Linked DNA regions of Homo sapiens: region 2 is linked to region 1. Evidence: promoter capture Hi-C in 16 types of primary human blood cells and fetal thymus (Javierre and others, 2016). All regions are on one chromosome and are shown on one strand. The core of a region is centred on a gene start or on the middle of the fragment in contact, and the rest is flanking DNA. Distances in the headings are between cores, read along the strand shown.

What was found. The method cuts DNA at HindIII sites, captures the fragments that hold promoters and counts their contacts. A CHiCAGO score of 5 or more calls a contact.
Region 2: a fragment that was not itself captured here is called in contact with the fragment with the promoter of GJB6 in region 1 in 1 of 17 cell types (M0 macrophages); the score reaches 5.9 in M0 macrophages.

The regions. Positions count from the first base shown.
Region 1 is chr13:20,230,453-20,235,722 of GRCh38, reverse strand. It overlaps GJB6 (gap junction protein beta 6), which reads left to right and starts at 3,404. Exons shown (of 5, transcript NM_001110219.3): 1 at 3,404-3,529; 2 at 4,218-4,341; 3 at 4,916-5,025. The HindIII fragment of the contact is 2,257 bases long and covers 1,743-3,999 here.
Region 2 is chr13:20,341,813-20,347,082 of GRCh38, reverse strand. No RefSeq gene overlaps it. Among named protein-coding and RNA genes, the nearest start is that of MIR4499, 89 kb to the left of the region's middle. The HindIII fragment of the contact is 2,978 bases long and covers 1,259-4,236 here.

The DNA of each region.
Region 1 (5,270 bases), core at 2,155-4,654:
CAACGTGATTGGAAACTTGCTGAGGCCCTCACCAGAAGCAGATGCTAGCACCATGTTTCTTGCACTGTCTGCAGAACCATGAGTGAATTAAATTTCTTTTCTTTTCTTTTTTTGAGACCGGTCTCACTGTGTTGCTCAGGCTGGAGCACAGTGGCAAGATCATAGCTCACTGCAGCCTCCATCACCCAGGCTCAAGTGATCCTCCTGCCTCAGCCTCCTGAGTAACAGGGACTACAGGCACACACCATCACACCCAGCTAATTTTTTTTTTTTTTTTTTTTTTTAGTAGAGATGAGGTCTCACTATATTGCCCAGGATGGTCTTAAACTCCTGAGCTCAAGCAATCCTCCTGCCTCAGCCTCCCAAAGTGCTGGGATTACAGGCGTGAGCCACCACACCGGCCTGTCTTTTCTTTATAAATTACCCAGCCTCGGGTATTTATTTGTGGCAATGCAAAAACAGCCTAACACATGCATGTTGGGTTCTAGATGTAGCTGGAACCAGTTACCCCTTTCTTCCTGCCTCTCTCTCCCTTTTGGAATGAAAATATCTCTCCTATGCCTGCCCCACCATTGTCTTTTGGGAGTAGATAGCCTGTTTTGATTTCACAGGTTCACAGCTGGAAAGGAGTCTGCCTCAGGCCAGCTATGCCTGCCTTGGAGTCTTAGCTTTATCTGATTTAGATGGGACTCTGGATTTGAACTTTTCAGTTGGTGCTGGAAGAGTTAAGCCTTTGGGGACTATTGGGATGGAATGAATGTATTTCACATGTGAGAAAGGCATGAATTTGGGGGGCTAAGACAGAATGCTATGGTTTGAATGTGTCCCCTAAAGTCCATGTGTTGGAAACTTAATCCCCAATGAAACAGTGTTGAAAGATGGGAGGGACTTTTAAGAGGTGAGGAGGTATGATGGCTTTGCCCTCATGAATGGATTAATGCTGTGATCTCTAGAGTGGGTTAGTTATCTTGAGAGTGGGTTCCTGAAAAAACAATGAGTTTGAACCCCTTCCTCTCTCTCCACCCCCACCTCTCTCTCTTTTCTTTCCCTATCTTCTCATTCTTTTGCCCCTCCACCTCTGCCATGGGAAGACACAGCAAGAAAACCCTCGCCAGATGCGAGCATCTTGATATCAGACTTCCCAGCCTCTAGAATTCTGAAAAATAAATTTCTTTTCTTTATCAGTTACCCAGTCTATGGTATTCTGTTATAGCAACACAAATGGACTAAGACAACTAATTTTCAGTTTTCAAATGCGCATCCCATCAAGTCCTTAAGTTTTATACAGTCCACATTTAATTTCTGCTGCAACAAGACTGTCTGATGAGTAGCAAAAACTGAAGGACAGTGTTCAATGTTAAGGCCATGCAGACTAATATAGATAACCTGAACAGAAAAAGAGATATTTTACACAGTGATGAGATGGTTTCATTTTTGCACACATGAGCAAATGCAACACATTCTCTGTGACAACTTTGGTTTGAAAGTTCTATCCTGCACCAGTCCTAGAACAATTTCCACTGGTCCAGGATGTCAATGCTCAGACACAGTACTGCATGGAATCAGGTGCAGGATTGAGAACAGGGCATGCTTTAGAAAAAGCAAAAGCTATTTCCAGGACTATCTGCTATGCTGGTTCAGCTTTGCCAAGCAATATTCAAATACTCATGGAGCAGCACATACTATGAGCAAAGTACTTAGTATTGTAGAAATGCAAAAGAAGAAGAAGAGGAAGAAAAGCTTAAACTGTTTATAATCCCCAAAGAAGTTTACAATCTGCTTAGAAAAATTATTTTACTATGCAAACAGCTGAGCCTGGCTGAAGCATCTGTTTGGGAGAGGAATGGAGAGAAGACTGGGAAGTCCACAGTTAGATTGTGTGGGGCAGGACAGAGCACCCAAGATTTACCGCATAGGGCACATCTGGGCAGTGTGAGGATGTCTAACAAAAAAGCCTAGAGATGCTCGGCGCGGTGGCTCACGCCTGTAATCCCAGCACTTTGGGAGGCTGAGGCAGGTGGATCACCTGAGGTCAGGAGCTCCAGACCAGCCTGGCCAACATGGTGAAACCCAGCTCTACTAAAAATACAAAACCTAGCCAGGCATGGTGGTGCGGGCCTGTAATCCCAGCGACTCGGGAAGCTGAGGCAGGAGAATCACTTGAACCCGGGAGGCAGAGGTTGCAATGAGCTGAGATCACACCACCACACTCCAGCCTGGGCAACAGAGCCAGACTTAGTCAAAATAAATAAATAAATAAATAAATAAATAAATAAATAAATAAATTTAAAAAGCCTAGAGATTTCTGTGTCTCTCCACTCTCCAAGTTCAAGGCCATTTCAGGGGCCTCCCCAAAGTTTTTAAAACTTGACTTGGGCAAATTCTTTAAGAACCTTGTTCTCCTCAAATAAAATATTTTGGAAAGCGGATTTTTATGAAGTCTTGGCTCAAATTCCATGACCTTTAACAGACATCTTAATTGTTTCGTGGGAGAATATGACCCAACAAGTGGCATATGGTTTAGGTGGGGACGTTTAATTACCGAACAGTTTTGTAGAATAAGCAAGTCACACATCTTTTGTCCGATGCGTGACAGGTTTGAACCTGTAAAGCCAGGTGCCTAAATAGCTTCCAACGTTTCCACCCCACCAGCCCTTGCACCACTCCCTGTACTGGCCCTGAGCTTTCTAGTCTTGACTGAAAAGCGGGGAGGCAATGTGGTCTCTCCTGGTGCACTGTCCCGAGGAAGGCCTGCTCCGCTTCCCCGGAGGAGTCTTCAAAGGATGGAGGTAATTAATAAAAACAACCCCTGTACCTCCTCTAAGTGGTCATTAATTAATAAAGAACCTCCAGGCTCCTATAGGAGAGGTCTGTGCACCCCGCGGGCTATGAGAAGGCTGGATCACCCAGAAAGACTGAGGATGTGTCCTGGCAAAAACACAGCCTGCCCCTCACACTGCTCCCCACGGGTGCACTAGGGAGGAAGAGTTCCCTCGAGGGCCTGAGCAGGCGCCCCACACCTGCACCCGTGCAGAGGGGGCTGGGCCCGCCCTCTGCGCTCCCGAGGGAGAGCCCTACCCCCTGCATCCCCGGTACCCCGTTCCCTCCAAGGGCCGGAAAGAGGGCCCCGCGCACTGTGCACTTCTTAGGGGTCCCCCACCCTGCGCCCCCGCCACGGGAAAAAGGTCCCCGCTCTGCGCATCCGGCCCCGGAGGGACAGCCCCGGTCCTGCACTCCTTGCTCCTCAGGGGGACGGTCCGCGCCCAGCGGCTAGTGCGCCCCGGGTAGGTGGGGGCGGGGGGCTCGTCGAGTGACAGCGCTCGCCTCCCGCAGCCCGCCCGAGCCGCGTCAGGGCAGAGGCGGGGTGGGGCGCGGTTAAAAGGCGCAGCAGGTGGGAGCCGGGGCCTTCACCCGAAACCCGACGAGAGCCCGACAGCCGGCGGCGCCCGAGCCCGACCTGCCTGCCCAGCCGGAGCGAAGGGCGCCGCCCCGCGCAGAGCCCGCGCCAGGGCCGCCGGCCGCAGAGCAGGTAAGCGGGCGCGGACCGGCTGGGTCTTGCGGGGGGCGAGCGGGCGGTGCCACCTCGGCCCCCCAGCGGAGGAATTTCCTCCAAGAAAACAAAACAGGTGAGGTCGGCGGCTGGTCCCCACCTCGCCCCTGTCGCTCCTGTCTGGCACCGGATCAGAGCCGGCAGAGCGCGGCCGGGATGGGTGTCTGGCCGCACGTGGGGCGACCGGGCCCCCGATCTGCCTCTATCCGCACCCTCCTGTCCACGCGCCCCGGCCCCGGCCCGATGGCAGTGGGCGCCGCCCGCGCTGGACCCTCTCTCTGTACGCAGAGGAACGAGGATGGACTGGTTTGACTTTTACCCCAGCGTGGTCCCCTTTGACTTGTACAACAGGTTTTATGAAGGTTTCATATCGTGTGTCTAAGAGGCCAGAGTGAGGGCCGGTGCCCCTTTCCCCCGTTTCATTTGCTGCGTGTTGGATTTTCTAAGCTTTTGTGGGTCACCGGGGTGTCCCCTTGGATTTGGGGAGAAGAAAGCCAGGTCTAGGATGCGGGTTTCAGTTCAGACAAACCCTCAACTTGGGCCGATGCATAAGTCCCCGGAGAACCGCAGGGTATGGGCTGCGTGATGGGCTTCCGAGAAACTTGTGAAATGCTGATGACAATAGCGTGGACGACAGTAATTAAAAGTAATTGGCGACACATCTTAGTTAAAACGTGCAGGCACCAGAAGGCACTTCCTGTCGGTGAAGAAGACCTGTCTCCGGTGTCACGGGCATCCTGTGTTTTGCAAACGGGGCTGACCTCCCTTCCTGGGGAGCAGGAAGGGTCAGGGTGAGTGTGGCCTGCCCGCAGCTCTGCACTCCCGGAGGGGTTAGGGACCTGCAACCAGGCGGGGACACTGGCCCAGCGACCTCAGTGTCCCCTGGGTGGGCGTGCACTCTGTTTAGTGTCTGATTGAACGTAACCGTGCCGGGTTGTTCTTTTCCCTCAAGTAGACTTTATGCCATACAGCTATTTTCTTGCCCCAGTTCTAGCAGAATCTAACCAGTGTTCTAGAAGAAAATGTCCTGCCCCCATGCAGTCTCCTTAGAATTGCAGGGTGCTGCTCAGAACTGCTCCTGTGGAGAGCTTTGTCTGTTGTTTGGATCCAGCAGCGTCTTTGGGGGTGTTGCTTGAAGCTTGCCAAGGAGGAGAGGGGGGTTCTGAAGAGAGAACACCAGGGCTCTAGCCTGTCACATAACTGGGGGTGTGGAGAGCGCCTCATTGCCACTGCAGTGACTAAAGCTGGGAAGACGCTGGTCAGTTCACCTGCCCCACTGGTTGTTTTTTAAACAAATTCTGATACAGGTAATGATGACTTTATGCTTTTTTTCTTATGTCTTCTCTTCTGAATTCTGAGTGTTAGGAAGGAAAAGAAGTACAGAAGATCTGGCTAAACAATTTCTGTATGGCGAAAGAAAAATTCTAACTTGTACGCCCTCTTCATGCATCTTTAATTCAATTTGAATATTCCAGGTGCTGTGAGCAGTTTGCATATATTAGTTTAAATGTTAAATGGGATAAAATTGTGGGAAAGTGATTTCTGACCCAAGCTTCTTGGTCTGTGAGGGCATAACCTTCTAATGGCCACCTGCCATAGGTTATGATTTCTGTTTTAGTTGCTTAGTGCATGAGCATAGACCTGGAACCCCAGAGGGCCTGCTCCATTTTTATTCCCAGGGTCATTTAAATCTAGTTGAGCTTAAATGTTTGGAAAGGAC
Region 2 (5,270 bases), core at 1,498-3,997, 110 kb before region 1:
ATGTCAACAAAGGAATAACAGTGTATTTGAAATAATGTAATTATTACTTTCGGTATCCATCAGCCCCACAAATATGATTAGAAGTATAGCCCCACATTAGCACCACAAATATGATTAGAAGTTTGAAACCTCTGGCATTTGGTCTTGTTTTATGTAAGTTTTCTACATGAAAATATTTGAGAAAAATAAGATACATTCTGTCTCTCATAAAACAAATTTTATATGGGTTTAAGAAATCAACCACACATAGCTGAGAAAAAACTAACATTACTAAAATGTTTAAACGATTTGAATTTTTTGTAATTACATAAGTAATATATCTTCAGGTTAGAAAATATTAAAAAGATAAAGATAAGAAAAGATAATAAGTCTCACATAATCCTGCCACCAGTGATAACTGCAGGCAACATTCTGGTACATGTGGAACAAATACATGTTGAATGAAAAAATGAATTTTCTTCCATCTTTGTCCTAAGTATGTATGTGTATGTTGTTTACACATTGAACTCATATCACGTTAAGTTCTCAGGCTTTTCTTTTTCCATGCAACATCATATCTCAAGCGTAGCAATGTGAATTGCAGTCTACAGCTTAGGAAAGTGAGAAATAGAACTTTCCTTTTCTTATCACACTTATTTCTATTTTAGCCCCCATCTGACAAGGCAGCAGCAGATTCATCTGATCAGTTAAAGCATTCTCTGTCCTGATAGTTGTCTATTGCCGAGGGCAGTAGAGGCAGGAAGGTCACTGAGGCCCTAGAGCTTCCTCCCCCAGGGTTCAGGGCCTGTCTGGTGTCACTGTGAGTCCCCTTCTCCCTGAGGTTGTAGGCAAAGACCAGGGCACTGGGGCGCTTGGTCCTCTCAGACCTCTCAGGATTCAGGGCACAGGGTCCTTCTGATGGGATCTGCTGATGTACCCTAGAAAACAATGCTACCGCAATGAGCTTTCTATGAAATCTGTCAGAAGTTCCATTATTTCCTATGGTAGATTCAGAAAGTGGAATTACCAAGTCAAAGGCTTAAGGCTCTTGATACACATATCAAATTGCTCTCCAGAGCACACCAACCTAATTTTCAGCATCAAGTTGTGACTGCAGCTGCTTAGAGCAGCCTAGCAGGCATGATCATTCATGGCAGCCTTTCTTCAGCTCCTCCAATACATTTCGACGAAGACATGATTTTTGTCTGTTCACCTGCAGAGTTCCATTTCTTTCAGTTAGAAGGTCAACTGTTATTGAGAACTCATTAAATGCAAAGCTTGTATAATTGGAAAAACTCCAAGCCTCAGTTTTTCATCTTCAAAAGAGGTATTAGGTTGAAGCACTTACTTAATTGAGGCTTTTGCCATTACTTTTGATGGCAAAAACTGCAATTCCTTTTGCACCAAAATTACTTTTGTGACCACCCCGCCTGCCCCCACCACGCTCACGAGAGAGAGTTCAGGATAGGGCATGTTCTAACTGATGAGATGAATCTGCTGCTGCCCTGTCAGATGAGGGCTAAAGTAGAACAGATCTGGACTCCTCTGCAAAAATGAGGGCAGAGGCCACTGGCAGGGACACAGAGGACCCCCCGATTCTCTCTACAAAACTTGGTCACTGGGAAGGTTGGCGGCTATGGAAACCCCACAAAATCTTCATGCAGAGCATTCTTAAAGTCCACCTAATCCCAAGCCTTCCTGTTACAGAGGAGGAAACAGCAGAGCCATAAGGTGACCATGAGTCAGGGGTGCAGCCTGGCCTGGACCACTCTCCTCCTGGCCCGGATTCTTTCCATCCACCCTCACAGGGGCTTGGCCTCAGCCAGGAGCTCTGGGCTTCCTATTGCCAGTCCTCAGACAGGGGCCCTGGGCTGCCATATTCACCCCCTCATCCCAGGGGTCACACTGCTCAGGCCACCTAGACCACCTCTTAGGACAGCTGGCCCTCATCCCTGTCCCGGGACAGGTAGGAGCGCAGCAGAAGGGCCGCCGGACTCTTCAGAACTTTTCTCTGCACCGGGCTCAGATGTCCGTCCCAGGCAAGAGCAGGATCCTGTCTCCCTGTTCAGGTTGCGACATTTCCTGCTTTCCATTAATTACATCTAAGTGGAGCGTTTAAACAATTAAAAGAATTTCTAGCACCACTCCTGGCTTAACACTGTTTACCTCTTGTTTAACATACTGATTTGGATTTAGGGTGGTTTATTAAAAAGGCTTTTCCTCAGTGACAGTTCCCTTTGGGCCCTGTCACCCAGTTTCTTGACCAGCTCTGAAGGACTCTGGAGGCCTCTGTGTGATGCTAAACAATTTACACACACACACAAACACAAAACATGAGTGCTCCAGTATTTTTAACCTTGGGAAGTTTTGGTTTATGACATTGTGACGTTTTTATTTTGTGCCATTTTTTCTTAATGGGGGAGAAAACAAATACTTCTTGGCTCCCTATAATAGCACAGGCATTATAACAAGTACTTTCTGAGCCTTCTGTCCTTTATTCCTTGCAACCATCCTTATTGTACCCATTTTACTCACAAGGAAACCAAGTCATAAGGCCAATAAACAGCAAAAACACGGCTGAAGTCCAGATCCAACTCCAGGCCTGCATCCTTACCTCTGTGTGGCATTGCAGCTTCTAGGGTTGTTATCTTCGGGCCTTTGGCCCCCGCCTTTTTTTTTTTGGAGAGAGTGTAACGTTCTGTTACCCAGGCTGGAGTGCAGTGGCACCATCTCAGCTCACTGCAACCTCTGCCTCCTGGGTTCAAGTGATTCTCGTGCCTCAGCCTCTCCAGTTGTGTCCAGGGTTAGTTCCTGCCAGTGGGTTCGTGGAGGGTTCCTGGCCTCGCTGACTTCAAAATGGAGCCACGGACCTTCCCGGTGAGTGTTACAGTGCTTAAAGATGGCACGGAACCAAAGAGCCAGCTGGAGCAAGATTTATTGTAAAGAGCAAAAGAACAAACGTCACACAGCGGAGAAGGGGACCTGAGCGGGTTGTCACTGCTGGCTGGGGTGGCCAGCTTTTATTCCTTTATTTGTCCCCTCCCATGTCCTGTTTCTGTCCTATCAGAATGCCCTTTTCCCAATCCCCCACGAGTGGTTACTTTTAGAGTCCCACTGATTGGTCCATTTTACAGAGTGCTGATTGGTCCATTTTACAGAGTGCTGTTTGGGCCATTTTAAAGAGTGCTGATTGGTGCATTTTACAGACCGCTTGCTAGCTACAGAGCACTGATTGGTGCATTTTTACAGAGTGCTTATTGGTGCATTTTACAAACCTCTTGCTAGCTACAGAGCGCTGACTGGTGTGTTTTACAATCCTCTTGTAAGACAGAAAAGTTCTCCAAGTCCCCTCTCGACCCAGGAAGTCCAGCTGGCTTCACCTCTCACAGTGGCTGGGAATACAGCTGTGCGCCACCATGCCTAGCTAATTTTTGTATTTTTAGTAGAGATGGGGTTTCACCACGTTGTCCTGGCTGGTCTCAAACTCCTGGCCTCATGCAATCCACCCACCTTGGCCTCCCAGAATGCTAGGATTACAGGTGGGAGCCACTGCACCTGACCAGCATTTGCACATTTTAGAGGGTGACTGTTCTGGGTGACAAATCACTCCCCAGGGACCACAGCATCAGTTTCACATGTAAAGTGGCCGGGGAAATGGAACTTAGCCCATTTAATAGACATTTGCTCACAAGTTGCCTGTTTCACCAGGATGGCTGCATGAAGGAACATGGAGTTAGGAGGTTGCTGGGTTAGATCAGCTAATGCTTCTAAATGGAAACAAGTTTCAATGGGGTGAGAGTCATGGGGTGGTGACATGGACTAAACTAAGCCCTTCCTGGGGGCCAGGTTACCATGAATGTTTGCCAGTGACAGCACATCCACGACCTCGGCCAGGATGGAGGCCCACAGGGAGAGTGAGGAGGACGGACAGGGCGAGGCGTGAAGGCTGACCTCAGAAATGCACTGGATGAGCCGTGGCTCCTTTTGCTGGGAAAGAAAACACAAGCGAGTTAAGTAACCTAAATTATATGTCTAGCCCTACAAATGACCTAAGGCAGATAATTCTACCTGTTATGACTCAAATCCTCTCTCTACAAAATGGGAGAAATAATATTGCACTAAGTAATCTTCCTAGAGATGCTAGGAGAACTTCCAGAGAGATTTATTTCTCAACCCATAAACTAATGTTGGTTACACCCAACATACAGTTCTTTAATTTCTTATTTCTTGTGTCCCAGGATCACAGGAAAAAAAGCTTTCTGACATAAAACACAGAAATTGCACAGAGCTACCCAAGTTCATTCTAAAATTAAGTTTTGCCTGATCCAAGAACCCTTCTTGGTTATAGGTTCATAAAATGAAAAGGATTTAGAGATGACTCAGTCCAGCAATGCAAGTGTCTAGAGGGTAACCTTCCACCCCCGGGGCCAGTTAGCAGGTGGACAGCATTATTCCCTCCAGGTCTCATCCTTGGAGGCTGAGCACAGCCCACAGTGCTCCTCCACCAGCCATGCCAGCTGACTGCAGCTGGCATTTGAGTGGAACCCTACTGGCTGTCCCTGACCTGGTCCAACCCTTTCATTTATAGGCAAACCTCCAGAAGCCCACAGAGTTTCAATGAAGAAATAGGGATTGTACAACTAGTGGGAGGCCACTGATAGAATCTAGATCTTATGACTTCCAGCTTCATATCCATATCCTAATACAGCAAGATTCCCTCTCTACAAAATGAATTTTAAAAGAATCAGCCAGGCGTGGCAGCATGCACCCGTAGTCCTAGCTACTTGGGAAACTGAGGCAGGAGGATCACTTGAGCCCAGGAGGTCAAGGCTGCAGTGAGCTCTGATCATGGCACTGCACTCCAGCCTGCATGACAAAGCAAGTCCCCATCTCATAAATAAATAAATATAAAGCTAACAAGACCCAGCTGTACTAAATTCCTCATTTTATTTATTTACTCAATAAATATTATTGAGCACCTGCTGTGTACCCAGCATTATGCCCAGATAAGTGACTGCCCCTACTTCACTCAGCTAGAAAGGAATTTCATAAAACATAGTCCTTTCACTCTGTAGGAGCTGGAGCAAAATTCAAGTATAAGTAAATATATATATAAGTATAATACATATAAATATAAGAATATATTATTTTATGATATATAATATAAATACAATTTATATATATAAATTATACTATTATAAATATTATTATAAATATAATTTATATATACAAATTATGTTATAAATATTATAAATATAATTTGTATATAAAATTATATTGTTATAAATATA